7 separate regions of the Homo sapiens genome follow, and all the other regions are linked to region 2. Evidence: promoter capture Hi-C in 16 types of primary human blood cells and fetal thymus (Javierre and others, 2016). All regions are on one chromosome and are shown on one strand. Each heading gives the region's core, a stretch centred on a gene start or on the middle of the fragment in contact. The rest is flanking DNA. Distances are from core to core; before and after follow the strand shown.

What was found. Contacts are between HindIII fragments. The CHiCAGO score rates a contact against its expected background, and 5 or more counts as called.
Region 1: a contact is called between a fragment that was not itself captured here and the fragment with the promoter of TUBAL3 in region 2, in 10 of 17 cell types (non-activated CD4 T cells, M2 macrophages, monocytes and 7 more). The highest score is 11.9, in non-activated CD4 T cells.
Region 3: a contact is called between a fragment that was not itself captured here and the fragment with the promoter of TUBAL3 in region 2, in 1 of 17 cell types (monocytes). The highest score is 5.1, in monocytes.
Region 4: a fragment that was not itself captured here is called in contact with the fragment with the promoter of TUBAL3 in region 2 in 8 of 17 cell types (erythroblasts, megakaryocytes, total CD4 T cells and 5 more); the score reaches 12.0 in erythroblasts.
Region 5: a fragment that was not itself captured here is called in contact with the fragment with the promoter of TUBAL3 in region 2 in 10 of 17 cell types (erythroblasts, megakaryocytes, total CD4 T cells and 7 more); the score reaches 9.2 in erythroblasts.
Region 6: a contact is called between a fragment that was not itself captured here and the fragment with the promoter of TUBAL3 in region 2, in 14 of 17 cell types (M0 macrophages, total CD8 T cells, M1 macrophages and 11 more). The highest score is 18.9, in M0 macrophages.
Region 7: a contact is called between a fragment that was not itself captured here and the fragment with the promoter of TUBAL3 in region 2, in 15 of 17 cell types (M0 macrophages, M1 macrophages, total CD8 T cells and 12 more). The highest score is 13.6, in M0 macrophages.

The regions. Positions count from the first base shown.
Region 1 is chr10:4,872,083-4,875,085 of GRCh38, reverse strand. It overlaps a transcript of AKR1E2 not described here and the pseudogene AKR1C6P. Among named protein-coding and RNA genes, the nearest start is that of AKR1E2, 47 kb to the right of the region's middle. The HindIII fragment of the contact is 5,702 bases long and covers 1-3,003 here.
Region 2 is chr10:5,403,558-5,406,562 of GRCh38, reverse strand. TUBAL3 (tubulin alpha like 3) reads left to right here and starts at 1,735. Exons shown (of 4, transcript NM_024803.3): 1 at 1,735-1,773. The coding sequence starts at 1,771. The HindIII fragment of the contact is 4,190 bases long and covers 1,112-3,005 here.
Region 3 is chr10:4,777,810-4,780,793 of GRCh38, reverse strand. No RefSeq gene overlaps it. Among named protein-coding and RNA genes, the nearest start is that of AKR1E2, 47 kb to the left of the region's middle. The HindIII fragment of the contact is 5,828 bases long and covers 1-2,984 here.
Region 4 is chr10:4,800,994-4,804,242 of GRCh38, reverse strand. No RefSeq gene overlaps it. Among named protein-coding and RNA genes, the nearest start is that of AKR1E2, 24 kb to the left of the region's middle. The HindIII fragment of the contact is 3,618 bases long and covers 1-3,249 here.
Region 5 is chr10:4,818,808-4,822,091 of GRCh38, reverse strand. No RefSeq gene overlaps it. Among named protein-coding and RNA genes, the nearest start is that of AKR1E2, 5.8 kb to the left of the region's middle. The HindIII fragment of the contact is 5,131 bases long and covers 1-3,284 here.
Region 6 is chr10:4,855,717-4,858,565 of GRCh38, reverse strand. It overlaps a transcript of AKR1E2 not described here. Among named protein-coding and RNA genes, the nearest start is that of AKR1E2, 31 kb to the right of the region's middle. The HindIII fragment of the contact is 1,052 bases long and covers 1,073-2,124 here.
Region 7 is chr10:4,837,868-4,841,046 of GRCh38, reverse strand. It overlaps AKR1E2 (aldo-keto reductase family 1 member E2), which reads right to left. Exons shown (of 10, transcript NM_001040177.3): 6 at 1,221-1,318. Among named protein-coding and RNA genes, the nearest start is that of AKR1E2, 13 kb to the right of the region's middle. The HindIII fragment of the contact is 2,171 bases long and covers 775-2,945 here.

The DNA.
Region 1 (3,003 bases), core at 153-2,652, 530 kb after region 2:
GACTCTATGATTCTCAGAAGGCTGTAGAGAAAAATCTGTAAGCTATTTTTTTTTCTGTTCAGTGACATTTAGTACATATATGTATGTAAACATCTCCAAACACGGGAAGAGCAAGCAATCCAGTAGCTCCTGGACAGACTCCCATCCTCCCCTGCCAACCAGCCCCTTAACTCCCTTGAGGCTAACATGGTCTTTGTCACTGTTAGTTCAGTCACTACAGGAGCCTAAAATTCCTGGTTCCCAAATAGCTCTGTGTACACCACCTCAACATGTTTTCACTGTGCTTTCTGAAACTCCTACTCAACCACTGGCAAAACCGTTTTATCTTTGTTGTCTTCTCTAAATGTTCTTTTCACCTTTTCCCAATAGCTGAAACCCCATTTCTCTTGGTAGCACTGATTCCTGTCAGCCCTCTCCAGTTGGGGCTGTTATCCTTCCCAAGACCTTAGTAGTGCTAAGCCTGAATATTGAGTAGGAACTCTCTTTCTAAAAGCATTCAGCTCTGGACTTTGTGTCATCAGACAAACCCAGCACTACCCCTGTCCTTTGCAGTCATCAGGGCTGCATTCCCAGGTCTTCTCTCATCCACCGAAGATTTTAGTTCCTAGTTTTCATCCTCTCCAACAGTAGACCTGCCATAATTTCTTTTGATTTCAACACTACAGAGACAGTCCTTGTAATAGTCTGATCTTTCAGTTTTGTGACTTTCCTCTTCCAATGTGTTTATCCTTCAGTCTAACTCAGCCTATCAACCTAATGGTCTCATTCTAGACCTTGTCATTACGAGTTACTATAACCATGCCTGGATGTCAATTTTAAATTCTTACACTATAGTCATCACCTCCTACATGTCCCGCTCCTTCTCTACATGGCCAACTTCAACAATCCTTTGATTACCACATGAGCTATAATTCACTGACCGTACCACCTTTTCACTGTTACTTGACCCTCTAATGTGCCCTCTGTCCTTCTTTGCCTACTTAAATTATGGGGTCAATCAATATACCAACATCCTTGTAAATACCCTCAACCCTTGCCATTTCTTCTAATGTTCTTTGCTGGTTTCTCTGCATTAGCTTGACCTCTCAGTTTTGGAGTGACTTAGAGCTCAACCTAGACCTCTTCTCCTTTCTCTATCTACTTTAACATCATTGTTGATTTCATCTAGTCTCATGCTTCAAATATCATCTAAATATAGATTCCCCAAATCATATCCAGCCCAGTTCAAGGCTCTGGAGCAAGGTTTGTATATGTGTCTACTTGCCTCTACTTGGATATCTACTATGCATCTCCAACTTATCATGTCTGTAACTGGGCTCATACTGGTATCTGCAATCCCTTCCCCAATACACACAGACACACAGACACACACACACACACACACACACACACACACACACCCCACACTCATACCGATATCTTTATGATAAAGTAACTGGCTCCTGGTAGTGCTCCCTCTTCTGTACTTCAGCACCAGGCATAGTAGCCACAGTGAACAGGTTAAAAAGGGTGTACACAGGAACTCCTCAATATGTGGGAGACTGCCATCTCACTCAGAGTTGAGACCAAATTCCTTACACAGACCTACAAGGGCCAATAGACACTCCCTCCCTTAACTCTCTGTGTCCCTGTCCTGCTATTCTCCCCACTCTTGACTCCAATGGAGCACCAGTGACCTCCATGCTGTTCCTGACTGTATTAGTCCATTTTCACACTGCTGATAAAGACATACTCAAGACTGGGTAATTTACAAAAGAAGAGAGGTTTAATGGACTTACAGTTCCAAGTGTCTGGGGAAGCCTCACAATCATGACAGAAGGCAAGGAGAAACAAGTCGCGTCTTACATGGATGGCAGCAGGCAAAAAGAGAGCCTGTGTAGAGAAACTCCTGTTGTTAAAACCATCAGATCTCGTGAGACTCATTCACTATCACAAGAACAGCGCAGGAAAAACCCACCCTCATAATTCAACCACCTCCCACTGGGTTCCTCCGACGACACATGGGAATTGTGGGAGTTACAATTCAAGATGAGATTTGGGTGGGGACACAGCCAAACCACATCACTGACATATGTCAGGCCTGTCTTAGGGCCTTTCCACTGGCCATTCCCCCTGCCTAGAAATCTCTTTCCCCATAGAGCAGGATTGCTCACTCCTTTACATCCTTCAGGTCTTCACTCATATATCACTCGATGATGCCTTCTCTGTCACTTATCTAAAAATGCAACTCGTCCTAGAAGAGCCTTTCTCTCTATTCTGATTTATTTTTGTGCTTGACACATATCCCTAACTTACACACCATATATTTTACTAGTTTATTTAGCTTATTTTATCTTTACCACATTAGAGTGTTAGATTCTAAGGGCAGGGTTTTTGTTTTGTTTTTGTTCTTAAACTAGTCTCTCCCTGGGTACTCAATACATATTGGTTGAATAAATAACATAATAAAATGAGAAACAGGGTAGGGGTAACAGAGAGTGGAGATGCAGGCAGGAACCCCTAACAATAAATATCAGTAATATTAATCAACAATAACTATTCAATGACTTGGCATTTTCTATGTCAAAAATTATTACTTCATATACAGAAAGAATTTGTATCCCCCTTGCTAAAATGGAACTACCCCATTGAAGTGACTTCATCTTCTAACCACTGTATCTCTCTCTAGGTATAATATAAAATTTTCTCCCAAGAAAAGTCATAGACAAATCATTTCTGAATGTTTGACATACATTGAACAGTAATAATTTTATCACCTTCCTCATTATCACCTTAAAATATTTATTAACTTTATATATTAAATCAGACTAAGCATTGTTTTAAAAAAGAGAGAATTTGTTTCTGCCCTCCTGGAGGTTCAAAATATAAACACAAATAGTTTATCTCCTCAAGCTGTAGAATGACATATTGCAAAAATGGAATGCACTGGTATATTTGTGAATGTGTGCCCACGTGTGTAGGTATATTTATTTTCCACAGTGTATTCAAAACAGCATCATGCAA
Region 2 (3,005 bases), core at 486-2,985:
TCAGGAGAAAATTGCTGAAGAACACTATGGTTTCTTCATTTTCTCAAAGTTGTAAGGAAGAATTGGTAGAAACCAAGATTCTTGAGTAACAGAAATTTTGTTTTGATTACTGAATAATAAAATTGTTACTATGCTAACAAAACATGTCATTAATTCAAAAGAAGATCAGGAAGAAAAGAGAACTTAGAAAATGGAGACAAACAGAAAGCACAAAATAAAATAGTACTCTATATCTAAACCCAACTATATTAGTTATTATATTAAATGTAATGAGCTGAATTCTCCAATTCAAATACAAAAATAGAAAAAAAATTCAGTTATATCATGCATACAAAGAACACATCCAAAATATGAGAATATGGAAAGGTTTTAAGTTTCTAAGAATGTAAAACGATGGGAAAATACATCATTCAAATGTGAACCAAAAAACTGTATTAAAGTAGTAATATTAATATTTGATCATAAAAACTTTAAGGTAGGCCAAGGCGGGCAGATCACGAGGTCAGGAGATCAAGACCAGCCTGGCCAACATGGTGAAACCCTGTCTCTATCAAAAATACAAAAAAATTAGCTAGGAATAGTGGCACACACCTGTAATCCCAGCTACTTGAGAGGCTGAGGCAGAAGAATCGCTTGAACCTGGGAGGTGGAGGTTGCAGTGAGTTGAGATCGCACCATTGCACTCCAACCTGGACGACAGAGCAAGACTGCATCTCAAAAAAAAAAAAAAAAAAACTTTAAGGTAAAAATAATTAATGTATATAAGGAGGGTAATTTAAAAATAAAAAATTGTTAAAGTTTTTGAAAATATAATAATTTAAAATTTATGTGCTCTTCATAACATGGCCTCAAAATGTATAAAGGAAAAATTGACAGAAAAAGAAATAATGGGTAAATTCACAATTATAATGAAAACTTTTAATACATCTTTTGAAATAATTGATACGTAAAATTTGGACTACACAATAAATCCATTTGATTTAATAGATTGATTGATTGAATGATCGGTCTATCTAAAATATTGCATCCAACAAATGTAGAATGCACATTCTTTTCAACACTCATGGAATATTTTCAAAAATTGACCATATAGTAGAATATAAAGGAAGCTTTAGCAAATATATAAGGAGAGAACTCAGTTAAGATGTGTGATCTGATCTTAGTGCAATTAATAAAAAATAATAACATAAGTATATATTATGTATAATAATATAAAAGTTCAAAAGACAATAATAATAAAAACAGAAAATTCCCATATGTTTGGATGTGGTAGTGGTTGAGAGGCATGCATAGGACACAGATGTAAAAAGGACACTGTCTTGGTTTGCTGTATGTATTCAGGGATTGTTTAAATTTATTTAAGAAGATATTCACATAGTACTCATGCAATAGAAAAAGCTACTTTGCTGTTGCAGAAAATTTTACTCATACTCCTTCCTTTTCTCTGCCAATGCTAAATAAATTCTTAACCCAAAAGGGTGATTTTTAAAAGACACATGTTCTTTTCAACATAGTTATAAGTTGGACGCAGATTTGGATAAGCTCTCAGTAGTTCATCTGCAGCTGTGTACAAACTTTATCCCGGGTTGTTCAGGCCCAACACAGCTACTCTGAGACCAGATAACTAAAAAAACTAAAAAGAAGCTATACTGCTTTAAGTGAAGAAAGCTCCAGCCCTCAGGTGGAGTCATTTCCGGGCCCTGTGATAAAGCTCAGCTGGGAGGCTCCTCAGTCATTACTACAGGGCAGGAAGGGCACGTTCTCATCAGCATGGTAAGTGACTACACGCCTATGCATTGTTGTAGGAAATTTTACTAATCATATTTGGCCCTTTTCCCACAGCAAACAATTCTTAATAAAATTGTAATGCAAGAGAAGACATTTGTAAAGAAACATTTGTTTCTTTCAATGTCCAAGTAGATGAGTTGGGAGCAGATGTGGACAGGCTGTAATCTATTCCTCTGTAATGTTGCTTCTTTCAAGGTAAAGCTCAGTTGATTTGCAGTAGCTCACTGCCATTAATTGAAGCACTGAAGCAAAAACCTTTCCTTCCTTTAGTTTTCACCTTTGTTTTAGGCCCAGAGTGCTGATTTTTCTGTAGATATTCATTGCTTCACTTTTCGTTAGGCTGTTAAGAGTTTCTGAGGACTTCAGACTTAGGTAACCGTGGCTAACCTCATAAATGCCTGGCAGGGTAAAGTGCGCAGACATCTTCTTTGCCCTCCCTTGAGTTTAGTTCTTTGGGCACCACAATGAATAGAATAACTTACAATAATTCTGTTTTGGGATGACCTTTTCAGATCCATTTGCCCTTTATTTTTTTCTGTGCCAGTTTTTCAGTATCTTTGAATTTTTAATTCTTCAATGGAAGCAACATTTCGAACTGCTTCTTGATCTTTGATTTCTCACCCCATTGGTCTCTCTGTCCAACATTTAAAAAATTTTAAATTGTTTTGCTTTTAAAAATTATGCCTTTCAACATGAGAGAGACTTGTGATAATAGCATGTTCTGTATCTTATCACTGTCAACATTCTGGGTGTGATTTTGTATTATGGTCTTGCAAGATGTTTCCACTGCGGGAAATGGGTAACGGATGCAAGGGATCTTCCTATGTTATTTCTCACAGCTGCATATCAATCTACAAAGACCTCAAAATTGAAAGTTTAACTGAGAGTTATGCTTTTCTAGTAATTCAAATAATCCTTATAGCAGCGTTTAATAATGTGCTATGACTTATCAGTGTTGACGTTCAGTGGACATTTTATAGTCTTCTACTTTATAGTGTGACTAATATTTTCATAGAGAATTTGGAAAAAAAGGGAGAGGCTAAGAGAAGAATAAGGCAAAGATAGTCTTCTACACCCTTGGACAGAGTTATGTTATAAGCTAAGCTCCTTCAAAGACGAAGGATGCTTGTTAGTCCAGGCTATTCGTGCTGATTTCAAAAAGAACAGCATCACTCTGCTTTCTGAGTCACTTGAACAGACCACGTGAAGAGGAACAA
Region 3 (2,984 bases), core at 247-2,746, 630 kb after region 2:
GTGACGATGTGCTTAATCAGGGCTCAGGTGTTGAGGATGTAGACTTGGGAGAGCCCCTTGTTGGTGTGCTTAAGGCATCCTGGTTTCAGTCAGGTCAGGTCCCCTCACCTAATACTGGCCTGAGGCCCAAGACCAAGATACAAGGACTGAGGCTGGTAAGTGATTTGAAGCAGTGCCTGATATTCATGCAAGAAGCTAGAAATGTCAGTTGCTGCTTGAGGTAAACATTTGTTTTCCAGAGTAAATGTTACAGCTTCTGCTTCTCATAACAGTGTCATTCAAGCATGTGTCTAAAGGACAGCAAGACATCATGGAAATAGCTTTCATTCTTAATCCATATTTGTGTTAAACTATAGAATCATTTAATCCACCAGCTCATTGTGATCATCAAAACAGAGAAGCTGCAAAATATTTCCTTCATTATAAAAATAAAACCAAGTGCTGCTCTCTGCTTCAGATTCCTTTTGAATACTAATGCATAAAAGCCAAGATTAAATTAATCTCAGCTGTCTCAGTCACACTTGGCTAATGAATCATAAAATAGTTTCATCTTCGTATGACAAGTTGCCCTTGATGGCAAATTAAAATCTTAATAAGGGTTTTTAAAATACGCATGCATATATACATGCACAATCTCTTTCATTAGAGCCCAATGTCAAAATACAAATTCTTGCTTTGCATTTCAGATATTGTAAACTTTTGAGAACATCTTCTAGATCTTTTTATCTGGTGGCTTCAAATTCTGTGTATGCAAATGCCTTTAACTTAACCTTCGAAATAATTGTTTTGGAAATCTTGATAGAGTTATTGGATAGTGGTTTGTTTTTAAAAATTATATGTATGTCATTTGTTAACTACTTACTTAAATAATGCAAAAATTAATGGTATAATTTTCTACCTCCCATGCTTCCTCAAGAACGGTGGCTTCTTTGGGGCCATGATGTAACGGAGATGTCAGAGACCAATTACAGAGGCAGATTGCCGCAGTGCTAGGGAGGAGAAAATTTTGGAAAAGGAGATGAAATGAATAAATAACAAAAGCAGTAACAGCAAATTAAACTTTAGCTTGAATTTTATATAGCACGTACTGGTAAAAATATTGTTTCAAATAACAGTGGCTGTATGGAACAGTGCTTCTCAAACTTTCATATGCACACACACCACCCGGAAATCTTGCTAAGTGTAGATTCTTACTCAGTAGATCTCAGGTGGAGACAAGAGTGCATTTCTAACCAGCTACCTGTGATGCTGATGTGCCTGATCCATGGGAAACATTTTGACAAGCAAGGCACAGCATAACGCACATGTAAATAGAATATTTTATTTTGTTGAAGATATAAATCCAATTTTAGAAAAAGGTGTATCTAAGCAGGTAGTTATAGTTTTTCTACATATGGCAAATTAGCCGGCTAACTTCAAATACCTTTTTCTGCCTACCTTTGAATTCTCTTTCTTGGAATTCTCAACATTGGCTTAATCTCATATGAGATTTGACTCAAGGGATTCCTAATGAGACATATTAGTTTAGTTGTTTTTTTAAAAGAAAAGTGAGAAAAATGGCAAAATATAAATTAAGAAGAAAAGCATAATTTTAAAATGATTATTACTTTTTTATTTGATTTGTTGGCTGGAAAAGGGTATGGCATTTTATATTTCTCAAAGTGGATTTAAAACAAGATTTAGAATATTACATCTAATTCTAACAATTTACTAATCATCAATAATTCTTACTTAAGCACCAAATCTGATGCTCACTGGAACAAGTATGTATTCAATTGTAATAATGTTTATGCCAGGTTAAAACTCCAATCCAAATGCCAAGACATTTAGAAAACTAAATTCTTAGATGTTATCTCAGGACTTTTTTTTCTCTTTTTCCAAAGAGAGAACAATGTTATTGATGCACTGACCTTTCTCCCAGATTCTAAACTCAAATGATTGTTTAAAAAGCAAAACTCTTACAGTCAAACTGCATACTTATTGTTTGAATGCTTCATAGCAAATCTCTTTAATAGATGTATTAGAATAAAATGTTTGTTGCACATCAATTCTATTATCCTTTTTTGTAGAATGCAGAGCCGAGGTACACTGTGACATCCAAGACTGCTGCCGGTTCTAGAAAAGCCGAATATAAGGAACAGGAGTCCGTTAGGGGCTTCTTTTATAGATGAGTCATATAAAACCATATGGAAAGACCCGAGGAAGATTTACCCATTGTTAAATTTAAATTCCTTTGAGTTATGGGAATTTAATTTTAGAAATATATACTTGGATTATGATATTTTTGCCTAGTGTGACAATACAAAGTGATAGGACTCAAACAAAAGATTCCTAACAACAGTAATATGCTACTCTTTCATTAGAAAACTATGAATCAGTGACTTTTAATGTGACATAACTGTTTTTATTGCAAAATATTTTCATATATTAAGTGTCAAATGACTATCACCTAAAACAAATTAAATTTTTACACATTTAAAAATTACGGGCATTACGTATTTTAAAATAAACTTTTTATTTTAGAGTGGCTTTAGGTTTATAGAAAAATTGTAACAATTAGAGGGTTTCCACACATCCCCCACTGTTTCCTCCTTCTGTCATTAGCATCTGATCTTAGTATGGTGCATGTGTCACAATTAATAAAGCAATATCAACATATTATTCCCTAAAGCCCCTAATGTATTTAGATTTTCTTGTTTTTTACCTATGTATTTATTTAATTTTTCTGTCCCAGGATCCTACCCCACCCAGGACACCATGTTAGTTACAGTTATTATGTCTTTTTAGGCTTCTGGCTATGACAGCTTCTCAGATTTTGTTTCTAATGACCTTTTTTGACGGTTTCAAGGAGTACTGGTTAGATGTTTTTCAAAATATGCCTAAACTTGAATTTGTCTGTTGTTTTCTTTTTTCTCATTATTAGACTGAGGTTGTGATTGTTGGGAATAAGATTACAGAGGTAAAATGCCATTTCTATCACATCA
Region 4 (3,249 bases), core at 203-2,702, 600 kb after region 2:
GGTTTTCAACACATTTCTTCTGCCCCTCATGGAAGGAGGTGGGACCCACACTTCCAGCCCTTTGGAGCCCCTGGGGAAACTCTGAGATATTCCAGTCCCCACCTCTGTGTGTTCTGATGTCACAGGTCCACTCCACAGGAGGACTGGAACACAGAGGTCTGACACAACAGCCAAATCTAAGCTGCACAACTCTATACCTCTAACAAGCAGTTTAGAAAATATGCTGATATTATCGTTTTTATAAAGAAAACCATTTCAAAATTCTGCATGTTTCAAGAAGTTGGAGATAATTTCCTTTATTTTGAGGAAGACAATACTGAACTATGGGAAGATGGACAAGGTTAGTTCCAGCACAGAGAGTCAAGCTCTCGACAGACATTGGCCTGGACACACAGAAGGACAGGGTTCAATACTCTCTACCAAGCAAGAAAATCCTTCTGTTTCCAGGCTACTGGGAAAGCTAGTTCAGAAAAGGTGGGCTCCATATACTCTCATTCCTTTCTGCACCCCTAAAATCCTGAGACAAAGACATATTCCTAAACTAGGCAAATGTTCAAGCAGTCATTGTAGATTCTGAAACCAAAGGGAAGTGTGATTTGCCTCTTGTTGTATTTATTTGTTGTGTTGTTTTTGTTTATTGTTACCCTTCCAAGTCATAATAAGTAACATTTGAGAAGCTGCACTAAGGTGTCAAATGTCGCTCTTGATTACAGGTCAAGTACAATTTCGACAAATATTATTTTAATTGAGTGATTTCTTAACAACGCAGTGTCCTCATTCTGGTAGATGGGCCAAAGAGGCTTAGCTTTATTGCTTTGTTAAAAGTCAGTCACTCTGTGATGAAAGATGCTATTTTGCACGGGCTACTCTATAGATCTACATGAGAGACCTCCTTGAGCTGTGGCTACTTTTCTGCAGGGTTAGGTAGGGATGTGCTCTCCATGGTTCCTGCCAGCAGGAATCCCTCCCTTCCCCTTCCTGGTGCTCCTCCTCCACAAGTACACAGTCCACAGACCTTGAACTTAGGTAGTGAGAGTAAGAAAGGAAGGGAAAAGAAAAAAAGAGGTAAAAATAAACATCTATAAGTTCCATATACACTGCTGTGAGCGAATGTGTGTGCTTTAGCAGGAGAAAAATATTTTAGTATTGAACAAGCCAACTCAACCCGGACTTTTCCTGCAGAATCCTCAAATAATTAAGCATCCAATAGAAAAAATTAAGCCAGTATGTGACATCATCTGGCCTAGTTTCAAGAACAACTCTACATTAAACATTCTTCACTCTTTCACCTGATGGGCAGGTTGAAGTTTGGCATTGCCTTATACCCCATCCCTTGCTGAACACTGGAAAGGAAGTCACCCCTATGATTAGTGAACGTGTGTCTACTTGTCTGGTCTTCTTCTCGTTCAACAACAACATAAACTACAAAAGCCTGGATTTTTTCTAGTGCTAGGAATTTGGATCATTTAAAACATCTGATCAAATTCAGGTAAAATAAAACTAGTGCAGAAATTACCTATGAAAGAAAAATTGAATAAGAATAAAAGATCAGTGTGTTGGTTGCTTTCCCATCAAACTTGTACAAGGATAACATAGGCTCAGATATGTAAACATCTAAAAATTAAGAAACATGTGACATGAAATGTACACAAAATTTAAAACATGAAACTATAGCAAACTGGCTATGTACTGTTGTGTATTTGCTTAGAAACAGAATATTTCAAGAATTGAATTTAACAATGCATGAACTTATTTACAATTAAAAACAACTTTATAAGGCATATTTCTCAATTTTAATACCCAATCCAACAGCCCAATAAAAGTGGAGAAGCCCTTAACACTTCTTGTATCTTTAAAAGACTAACATTTTCTTTAAGACTTACAACTAAATCTTTAAATAAGAATTAGCTATTTTAACATTAGAAGATAACAATTTTTTAAAGGACTGCATTGTTTTTGCTCAGAGAGTTGCATAGAAAAGGACCTTATCCTCCCCTCTTTTTCTGCTACATACACACACACACACACACACACACACACACATATATACACATCCCCCTCACAAATCAAGTCTTTTCATTTAAAACAAATATTTTGGATGAGGTAATCCTAAGAGTGTCTGAAAGACAACTGTCTCTTTTTTGGTGGGGGAAAGAGTGGAATTGGAGAGAAATCATAAAAAACACTGATGTAGATAATTAGTTGAAGAAATAATATTCATGTTTTTAATAAAATTTTTAAAATTCATCTAAAGCGGTTACTTTATTCATTTGTTTTTACATTAATTCATCTAACAACTATTAATTAAAACCACTAGGAAGTGGAAATTAAAATACTTAAGCAAGTCTTTTTGGTTGCAATTAACAAAACCCCTCTGAGCTGGCAGAATGCAGCACCAAGGGCTGTGGTACAGATCTGAGGCACCTAAGGGAAGGCAGAGGGGCAGCAGGGCCTCCCAGGGAACCATGCCACAGGCTCGCTGTGACCCAAGGTGACAAACCTCTCATCTCTGTGTCTCTCTTCTGCTTTGTTCTTTTCTCTCCTTGCAAACAAACATGTTCTGATTTTGGGTGTGCATGAGTCAAAACAACCCAAACTCTCCTCAGCCCTGCCTGCAGGACACCAGTTAAGCGGCTTACAGACACTCGTTAGAGTTTGAAATCCAAATCCACATTCCAGGAAGAGAGCATCCTGTTGGCCTTGCCCTGCTCTCATGACATCTCAGGTTCATCAGTTATACCTAGAATGTTTCTCAGGAAGGGGTTTGGGCTTGGAGAGTGGATCCAGGAGTTGTGAAATCAGAACAGAGCTTTCAATGCAAGGGTGCCCAACACCCCCGCTTCATGATCTGATAGAAAATCTGATAATGTTATATAACCACACAAACAATGTTTGAAAGTCAACATACTGCCCTGACTGTAATGTAAAGGAGAAACAAAAGGAAGATAATTTAAGATAAAATGATATGATTTTAGTATTTAAATACTAAGACACACCCAACTGCACATCCATTATGTGTAAAATCACTGTGAAGGTGACAGTTACATTCAAATACGGAGCAATTTGATATAGGTGAGTTGTATCGGATGCTTAAATGCCATAAGAGCAATGCTCTTTGTGATGATTTTCCTGAAATATGGAGAGTTTAGGGTACATTTCTGAACTTAAACTACCATCTTCTCTCAATTTAAACATTAATTGAATTTCTATAAAATTTAGTGTATATTAAAACTATGCAAAAATGTGTGC
Region 5 (3,284 bases), core at 158-2,657, 580 kb after region 2:
TCTCAACATATAACACATTGTCAAGGGAAAAGGGAGCATGAATATGAAGTGCAGCATGAACACACTTTTTAAAAGTGCATTTTGGTAGCTCCATGGATAGCCTGTTCTTAAGGATGAGGGAAGTTAACGCTGGGAGTGAGTGAATATTTTAGGTTTAGATATAGGCATTTCTTTATCTAGTTGCTTTATTGGGTATCTTACACTGAATAATAATGTATAGGGAATAGTCTCTCTGGGGCATCTTTGCACAGTGGCTCATTCTAAATCCCCATCACTGGTGCATGCATTGAGGGAATAACACACATCTGCTACAGCCTGTGTGTATGTTTCTCAGTGTTTGACACAGCTTCACACAACCTTCATCATCACCTCAGCAAACTCAGGGCTAGACCTTTTGAGACAACAGAGCAACAAGTGTGATTTCTCTGCACACATATGATGTTGAGAGATGAGGACAGGGAGAAGTGCAGAAACAACAGCACACCTTTTGTTTTTTTTTTTTGCAGCTGGACAGATAAGCACACTCAGGGGAGAAAACGTAGGGTCCACTAGGGATGAGAGAGTAGAAACCAGCAACAGAAATGCCAGCTGCCCATGAAGAATCAAAGAAGCAGCAAACAAAAGCTAAACGCTGTCCTGCTGGTGGCAGCTCTGCTAAGCCTGTTTTGATAGACTTGAATTTTTGCACACCTCACAACAAAGCACTCAGCCTTTCAGTTCTTGCTTTGAGTCAATTGTTCTAATAACATCATTAACCCGGGGAACAGCACTAAGTGATTCTGTTTGGGTTGAAGCCAGTAAGAAGCCCAAGGACGAAATGTACCACTTCATGCCGAATCTTTACAAACACCATTCCTGGCACTAAAGGTTTACTTGACTTTTCTCCCCAGTAGCCAAGGGACCTATCTTCTGCCAAGGTTTCAATGGAGATGGCCAATCGGAGTCATCTAAGCCAAAATAAACCTCTTTTTGTCCTCCAAGAGCAGATTTGCTTGTGTGAATGATGCAGTTGTTATCTTGCCAAGTCAACAGCTTTAGAAGTGAATAGACTACTTAGAGGCCGGGGATTATACATGTACAAAAAGGGGAAAGACTCCACAAAGAGGATGTGAGATTTATGAACTTTGAGAAATAGCATTTGGCTGAGCCAGTGACGACAAGATCAAGTAGGGAAGCATGGGCCTCTGCGCCGAACCACTGTGCTAGAGCTTTGTGGACAAGAAATTCCATTTGTCTGGTTATTCACCAGGACTCCAAGTATACTGTTTTGTCTAATAAGAAGCTAAAATGGCCAAGTTCAGCTCAAAGGAAATACCACGGCCACTCAGGCAGCAATACTAGTTTACAGAATCTGGACAAAATTTAACTGCTGTAATGGAAGAGGGCTCAAGAAGGAATGCATGAAGTCTATACCTTAAGTTCTGTTTAAAGTGACACAAAAATAATAGCTTGTCATGTGAGCAACCAAAAAAAAAGCATCATGTGGCCAGATGCGTTGGCTCATGCCTGTAATCCCAGCACTTTGGAAGGCTGAGGCGGGTGGATCACAAGGTCAGGAGTTCGAGACCAGCCTAACCAACATGGTGAAACCTTGTCTCTACTAAAAATACAAAAATTAGCCAGGCGTGGTGGCGCATGCCTGTAATCTCAGCTACTCAGGAGGCTGAGGCAGGAGAATCGCTTGAACCTGGGAGGCAGAGGTTGCAGTGAGCCAAGACTGTGCCACTGCACTCTGCCCTGGGTGACAGAGCGAGACTCTATCTCAAAAACAAAAAGCATCATGTTTTTTAGTCATAAATGGATTACGACAGAAAAAAAAATCACTGTGGTGTACTGTCAGAAGGCCCTCAAAACACTTTCCAGTATTCAGAGTGCAGAGGAAAAAAATCGGGAGGAAATTCTGCTTGTAAGTGCTCATTAGACATTCCCAATAAAGGAAAATCCCTTCTTCAAATCTCACATAAACTGGCCCCACATACACAGAAAGCAACCGGTAAGTTGCTAAAGTAAAGGATGAAAAGGCAGCCACAAATAATAGTCCACGAGTTTCTGAGGACAAGATTATGATATTATAAGGAGCTCTTTTTCACTGAAGTTGCCCAACGCCAACTATCCTATCTTTTACCACAACTTAACTGTTAGACTTTCACCAGAAATGTCTGCCTTATCTTTGTCTCATGATGAAAATAAAGACTGTCCAAGCAACCACAAGAACCATAAATGTGGTTCTCATCGATGGGGACACACGGGGGACAGCGACTTGTCAATCTCAGACTGTGCAGGCATATACCCTTCAAAGCAGTGGTTCCTCTGCATTATAGCACTGTGTGACACAGAGAAAAAAAATAGAAACAGACGATGGTCTGTAGCAAGGTTGCTTCTGGAGGTATTAAATTATGCATCTCTCCTCTCTCTGCTTCTCCTTCTTCCCTCTTTCTTCATTTCCTGCTGTACCCTCTCCATGTGGCTTTAATAACTGCGAGCTTCTGCCTGTATCTGAAATGGCTACAGGTGTTGCCATCACATTACCAATGTGTTGATTTAATAGAGTATTATTGTGGCATTTCACTCCACTGCCTGAACTTTGTGGAAAATGGCAACCTTGAATGGGGTGGAAGACACTCATCTCCCCCTCAAGTGAATTCTTTGCAGATTTATGTCTATCAGTGATTGATTATGACCGACCTCCACATGTTATCCAGTTCCAATAAAATTTTAGTTAAATAGAAGCCTTAAGGAGAGTAATCCCTGCTCTCTCAAACATCACTACAAGGGGATCCCATTTCTAGTTCAAATTCAATCTTGAAGTAGTTTCCTTTTAAGCTGAGTCAGTTAGAATTAACATGGATTGAAAGAAAAAAAGATTAAACAACTTTTGAAAATAATTGTAACTACTGAAATGACAATAACTGAAATTTATTGAGAATACCGTACTTCAGGTATTGTGCTAGGACATTTACCTGGCTTATCTCATTTAACAATTATTTGGTGGAATCTAACAATTTTAAATTGCTCACAGTATTGGTAAGTTAAACTAGCAATTTGTTTTTATTTTCCCACACTGAATTATATATTAGATGCCTTTATTTTTTTAGTTTTGTAATTTAAAAAAATGTACCCAGGTCTTCATTGCAGATATTCTTCAGTATGGAAAACTCCCCATTTCCTCTCTACTTCTCTTTACTACCACTGTGCTTTTTTTTTTTAAGTTGGAAAGGTAGCCCATATTTTAGAACTATAAGATAATTTCCTGTAGGTTTTTATTCTAAATTTTTTGTTTAGAA
Region 6 (2,849 bases), core at 349-2,848, 550 kb after region 2:
TCTTCCACACACTTTCTCTCTGTAGTTCTATGCTAACTTGTGTTACCTCAATTGAAGCACCAATTGCATTGAAATAATTATTTGCTTACATGACTATCTCCACCATTTAATATTGTGGTAAAGACCAAAGACAATTCATCTATTCATTTTTAATGGGGAATATAGGATTCAGCCTGCTGTAGGCTCAATGAATGAATGAATGAATGAATGAAGAAATAAATGAGTGGGTCTATATAAAAACAGTACCCAACTTTCCTTTTTTTCTTCATATATGTAAGATCTACTCATATGCTTACTGACTCCAATTTTCAAATGGCCTAAAATTGATCTTCTCAAATTTGTTTCCCTGGAGTAGTTAACACTATGAGCTACGTCAAACAAAGTCAAAGAATAAGTATGACTCATTTTGACTCGTTTTCCTGAAATGTCAATGAAAGAAATTGACAACATAGATAATATTTATATTAAAACTAACATGGTAAAATCAACAAACTAACTTTACATCCTAAGGAACTAGAAAAAGAACGAAACCGAATCTAACAGAAGGAAGGAAATAATAAAGACAAGAGAAGAGATATATAAAATAGAAAATATTTACAAAGGTAGAAATAAACAACAATGAAACAATGAGTTGGTTCTTCAAAAAAGGTCAACAAAATTGAAAAACATTTAGCTTGCTTTACTAAGAAAATTAAAAAATGATAAGACTCAACTGAAATCAGAAATTTAAAAACTCATTTAAATAAAAAAAAGTATGAGAGAGTAGTGTAAAAAGTTGTATGCCAGCAAGTTAGATAACCTAGATAAAATGAACAAATCCATAGAAACACATAACCTACCAATACTGAATCATGGATGAATCTTTTTAAAAATTTTTATTTTTATTTTTAATTTCTGTGGGCATATAGCGGGTATATATATTTATGGAGTACGTATTAGTCTGTTCTTGCATTGCTATAAAGAAATACCTGAGACTGGGTAATTTACAAAGAAAAGAGGTTTAACTGGCTCACAGTTCCACAGGCTGTATAGAAAGCATGATGCTGGCATCTGCTCAACTTCTGGGGAAGCTTCAGGAAACTTACAATCATGGCAGATGGGAAAGAGGGAGGGGCACTTCACATTGTTGGAGCATGAGGAAGACAGAGAAGATGTGTGTGTGGGGGGTACTACACACTTTTAGATAACTAGATCTTATGAGAACTCATTCACTATACAGTACCAAGTGGGGGATGGTGTTAAACCATTCATGAGAACTCCAACCCCATGATCCAATCACCTCCCACCAGGTTTTACCTCCAACACTGGGGATTACAATTGAACATGAGATTTGGGTGGGGAAACAGATCCAAACCATATCAGGGTACATAAGATGTTTTGGTACAGCCACGCAATGTGAACTAATGAATTATGGATGAGTCTTGAAAACAATATGGTAAGTGAAATAAGCCAGGCATAAAAAGGCAAATATTGTGTGATTCTACCTATATGAGGTCCCTAGAGGAGTCAAATGTATAGATCAAGAAAGTAGACTTGTGGTTGCCAGGGGTTGGAGGAGGAGGGAATGGGGAGTTATTGTTTAATAAGTAGAGAGTTTCAGCTGGAGAAGATGAAAATACTCTGGAAGTGGATGATGGTGATGGTTGCACAACAATGTGAATGTACTTAATACCACCGAACAGTAGAGTTCTACAGTTGATTATAAACCATCTTCTAAAGAGGACCAAAACAAGGCAAAAATTGTCCATGGATGACAAAAGTCTCAGGACAGTTACAGTCAAAAACATAATTGACAAAGAAATTTGGTTACCTCTGTGCCATGGAATGATTTTATGTAACAACTAGTGTATTAATAACATACACTAAGTCATATCAGAATTATAGCAGTTTCCCATAATTTTGGAACATATACTAATAATACATTTATACAAACACACCTGAAAGAAAATCAAACACCATTTCATATTTGACAATGCTTCCTGTATGACTTTTATACCAAATAAGTCAACTGTCACTGTTGCATTAGTGCATTATTGATGTCAGACCTAATTCTTAATAAAACCTTATAGATAAATGTATCCAATCGTATTCACTTTGACCATAAGGTAAGATTCTTATAAAGCTTTTATAACCCTTTATAATTTTTGTTAAAGAGCAGGTCATAAGCAGGTTTTTGCTCTAAGAAAAACCTGTTGTGCTTTTATTCCAATATTCAGTCTACAAAAAGCTAGATAATACCCCTTTAACTTTAGCCAATATGTTCACAAACAGAATTTCTTTTACAGGATTAATTTTTCACAAACCTTCCACGACTAGCTTAAACCTTCAGCTTTACTCTAACTTAAGACAATTATTTAACCCTTTAGCAGAAAAATCTACATTCCCATGACTTCTTATAGTCTTTTACCAAAAACATATTCTACTTTCTTTACATACCTTGCATGTAGAACAGTTTCTCCAGTAGTCTCAAATATATGTTACACTGTTAACTCTAAGCGACTTTTACTTTTGGTGAAAAACCTTGGTAAGTTTGGGATTTTAATTTTGTACTAGGTGTGCAGGCTAGGACAGCAGACAGAAGTTCAGGTAAGGGCTGACTGTTTCCTGCACAGCTAGGGGGCATGGCTCTCCACATGTCCCCAGGCCTTATCTAGAATCGAATGCTCCGAACTAGGTAAATTGAACAATTTTCAAAAGTCTAAGAAGCAGTTTATGCCCTTAAAGCATTTAGCAAACCTAATATTTGACCTGCCTAATTTAGACCAAATGTATTTATTTTACCAATAATCTTTAAAACTGTCTTTATTTCCCAAAGATTACTTAAGTCACATGAACTAAAAGGCATTACA
Region 7 (3,179 bases), core at 611-3,110, 570 kb after region 2:
AGCTGGTTCCAAGTTCAAACACACATGCCCCACTTCACAAGGAAAACACACAGGTGATAAAACTCAAGTAATTTCAGCCTTTTCGGGGTTCCCAATGTTTCCCAGGTGCTGAGCTAGAAGCTGGGAAGAGAAGAATAAATAAGATACCTGCACTCTGGTTGCTTTGACTAGTGGAAGGGACTGAGAAGAAAATCACAAGACAGTGTGACAAGGGCTGTGTAAGAAACATAAATAAGGGGTCAGGAGGGCTTCCTGGAGAAGATGATGCTGGACTGAACCTTAAATTAGAAACTGGAGTTTGCCAGATTTAAAAAAAAAAGATTTGTGGGTAAAGAGAACAGTATTTGCAAAGGCACAGAGGTGAGAAAACATGTTCTATCCAAGGACCCCACAGCAGCTTCATGTGGCTGAAGCCCAGGATGTTCACAGGGATGGGAAGGAATGAGGCCAGAGGCAGGCAGAGGTCAGGCTGGCTGCATCTCACAGGCCACACCAAGACCTGAAGAATTTTTCCCAGGAAAGTGATAGGATCATAGGAAAGGAAAGAGACAGCTCCTTTCAGCTCCCACTGGGAGCAATGGATTGGAATGGAGTGGGCCAGGGAGGGAGCTGAGGGGCTCCTCTAATGACCTCGGGAATGCTACTTAACTAAGGCAGTGACAGTGATGGCAGAAATGAAATCATGAAACAAAGTCCAACTTCTCCTGGCAGAATAATCAATAGATTTTGGTGCTGGATTGGACTCGGGATGTGGGAAGGGATGATTTCCAAGCTTCTGGCTTAGGTGGCTGAATGGCTGGAGGTCTCTTAGCTGATCTTGGGAGCACAGTACAGCTGCAGGAGGGCCTGGGTAAAGATGACAGCAGGCTTTGCCTCATCCAACCATGGAGAGGCCTGGGGAGCATCCTTGTCAGGAGGTCAGAAGGGGGCTGACACCCTGGTGGGGAACTCAGCAAAGGGGTCACTCCAGGCTGATTTACGTCCCTGAAGAGGTCCTGACCCTCCCAGGGCAGCCCACTCACAGCCACTCCCTGGCTTCCAATAATAAACCATGCCTTCAATCCCAGGCTTGAGAGGTGTGGACAGCCCCCTATAGTACCATCCCTCCACACCCTGTCAAAACCTCCATTAAGCCCTCCCTCAGTCATCCCAAGGAAATGAGAAGGTGGCATCTACTTCCCAGTCGGACTCTGACTAACACACCACTGAGGTATCCTTACCACGAGCCACCAAGAGGACGGTAAGCAGTCACGGACACATCTCTGGATTGGCAAAAACTGATCAGATTCTTCTGAGTAAGATATGGGTGGCACTCAATCTATAACAGAATCATAGCTTACATAAAATTCAGACCACTAGTGTTCAAGAAAAGCTCTACAAGAGAAGACCTGCGTCAAAGTCTTGGCTGTCACCGAGTAGCCATGGGGCCCAGCTCCAGGCCTAAGTGTTTCTGTTGTGAGGAGTCTGGACAGAGCAATCTCCAAGAGGCCAGCAGGTGTCATGGTCTCTGAGTCCACGGCCTTGGGGACACCTACATCATCTGAATGTTCCAATACCACCTGCTCTGCAGGGCCTTCCCTGAGCACTCAGATAAAGATTGTTAACACACCATAGCTCTCATCTCCCCCGGCCTTTATTTTCCTCTACAGCATCTATCACTATCTGACATCTCATAGATTTTACATATTTGCTCACTGTCTTTCTGTGTCACCAAGATCTAAGCCTCATGAAGATAGAGATTTTTGTTTGAATTTGTTTTGTTCATAGATGTCTCACCAACACTAAGAACAATCTAGACATGTAGGAAGTGCTAAAAATATATCCACTGAATGAATGAATGAAATTGAGGAACTACATGTGACAAATACATTCTACAGGTGACTTGAATGAAAATTTTAAGAAGCTAGAGAGCAGGATCTCTGTCTCTTGCACATTCTCCAAACTCTCACATATAATTCCAGGTTATAAGGAGATTTAAAATAAATAGTTATTTAGTGTAAATTACAGAGAACTATGAATAGTGCGTTTGCTCTCAGGAACATGCCAAGCTCATCAAGATCAGCCTGTTTGGAAAGCCTCCAAAAGAGAGGCCAGCCCTTCTGGAGCCTTCCGCATCCTGTGTTCCTGGTGTCCATCAACCTAACAGAAAGCAGACCCTCCACCCCACTTTGTCTACTCAGACTATGCCATAATCATTCCCAGGTATTTAAAGTGCTGAACAACTAAAAATACTGACACAAAACGGAAGCTACTATCCATATAAACATATATCAAAACTTATATATATAGGGTTGTATACAAGGCAAAGCTGAACTACATGAGAAGCTGGGTCAGAAGCCAGGTTGCTCTTCATGGTGGTGGCTACAACAGGACCCAGGGGAGCTACTGAATGGCTGAGGGCTTTTTTCTTGTTCTGGGTGCTGAATACTTGAGTTTGTTCACTTGCAAAAATTCATCAAGCTATGTATGCCTTTTATGATTCACACACTTTTCTGCATCTACTCCATACAGAACTTTTTTAAAAAGCATATTTATTCAAAAAAATAGAACATGATGCTCTATTCTTAATAGTCCCAAACTGGAAACTGTCTAAGTGCCCATTAACAGCAGAATGGATAACTCAATTGTGGTTAATTCACAAAACAGAATACCACAAGAAATAAGAGAGCACTATCTACAATCACATGTACAGAAACACAGTGCTGTGTGAAAGAGGCGAGCACAGAGGGGTTTATGTTGCATTATTATTTTATTTTACCTGTGTAAAGTTCAGACGTGAATCCCAGCTGCTGGGAATGGGAATGATGCTGTGCTCGGCAGGGGTTACAGGGGCACTGGACGTGCTGTTTACTGAGCTGGATGCTAGTCCCAGAGCTATGCTCAGTTTATGAGAATTTATACAGTTCCATTTTCACATGTGCACTTCTACTCTTCAATAAAAAGCTTAAGTACTGTATAAATGATCTTTGAACATACAAAGCTAGTCTAGAAAATACAATAGTTATTTCCCCACAAGTCTTTTCTCTGCATTAAAAAAACGAAGTGCCTGCATCACCTTCAGCAGCCTGTGAGCCTCGCGTGAAGCCATCTAGTCATCCACTCTTTCTTGCTGCAGTCTGCAGGCTGGGAAGAGGTAGAGGGGAGGCCCATGTTCCTGGATAAGGGTGAGGCACCTGCCA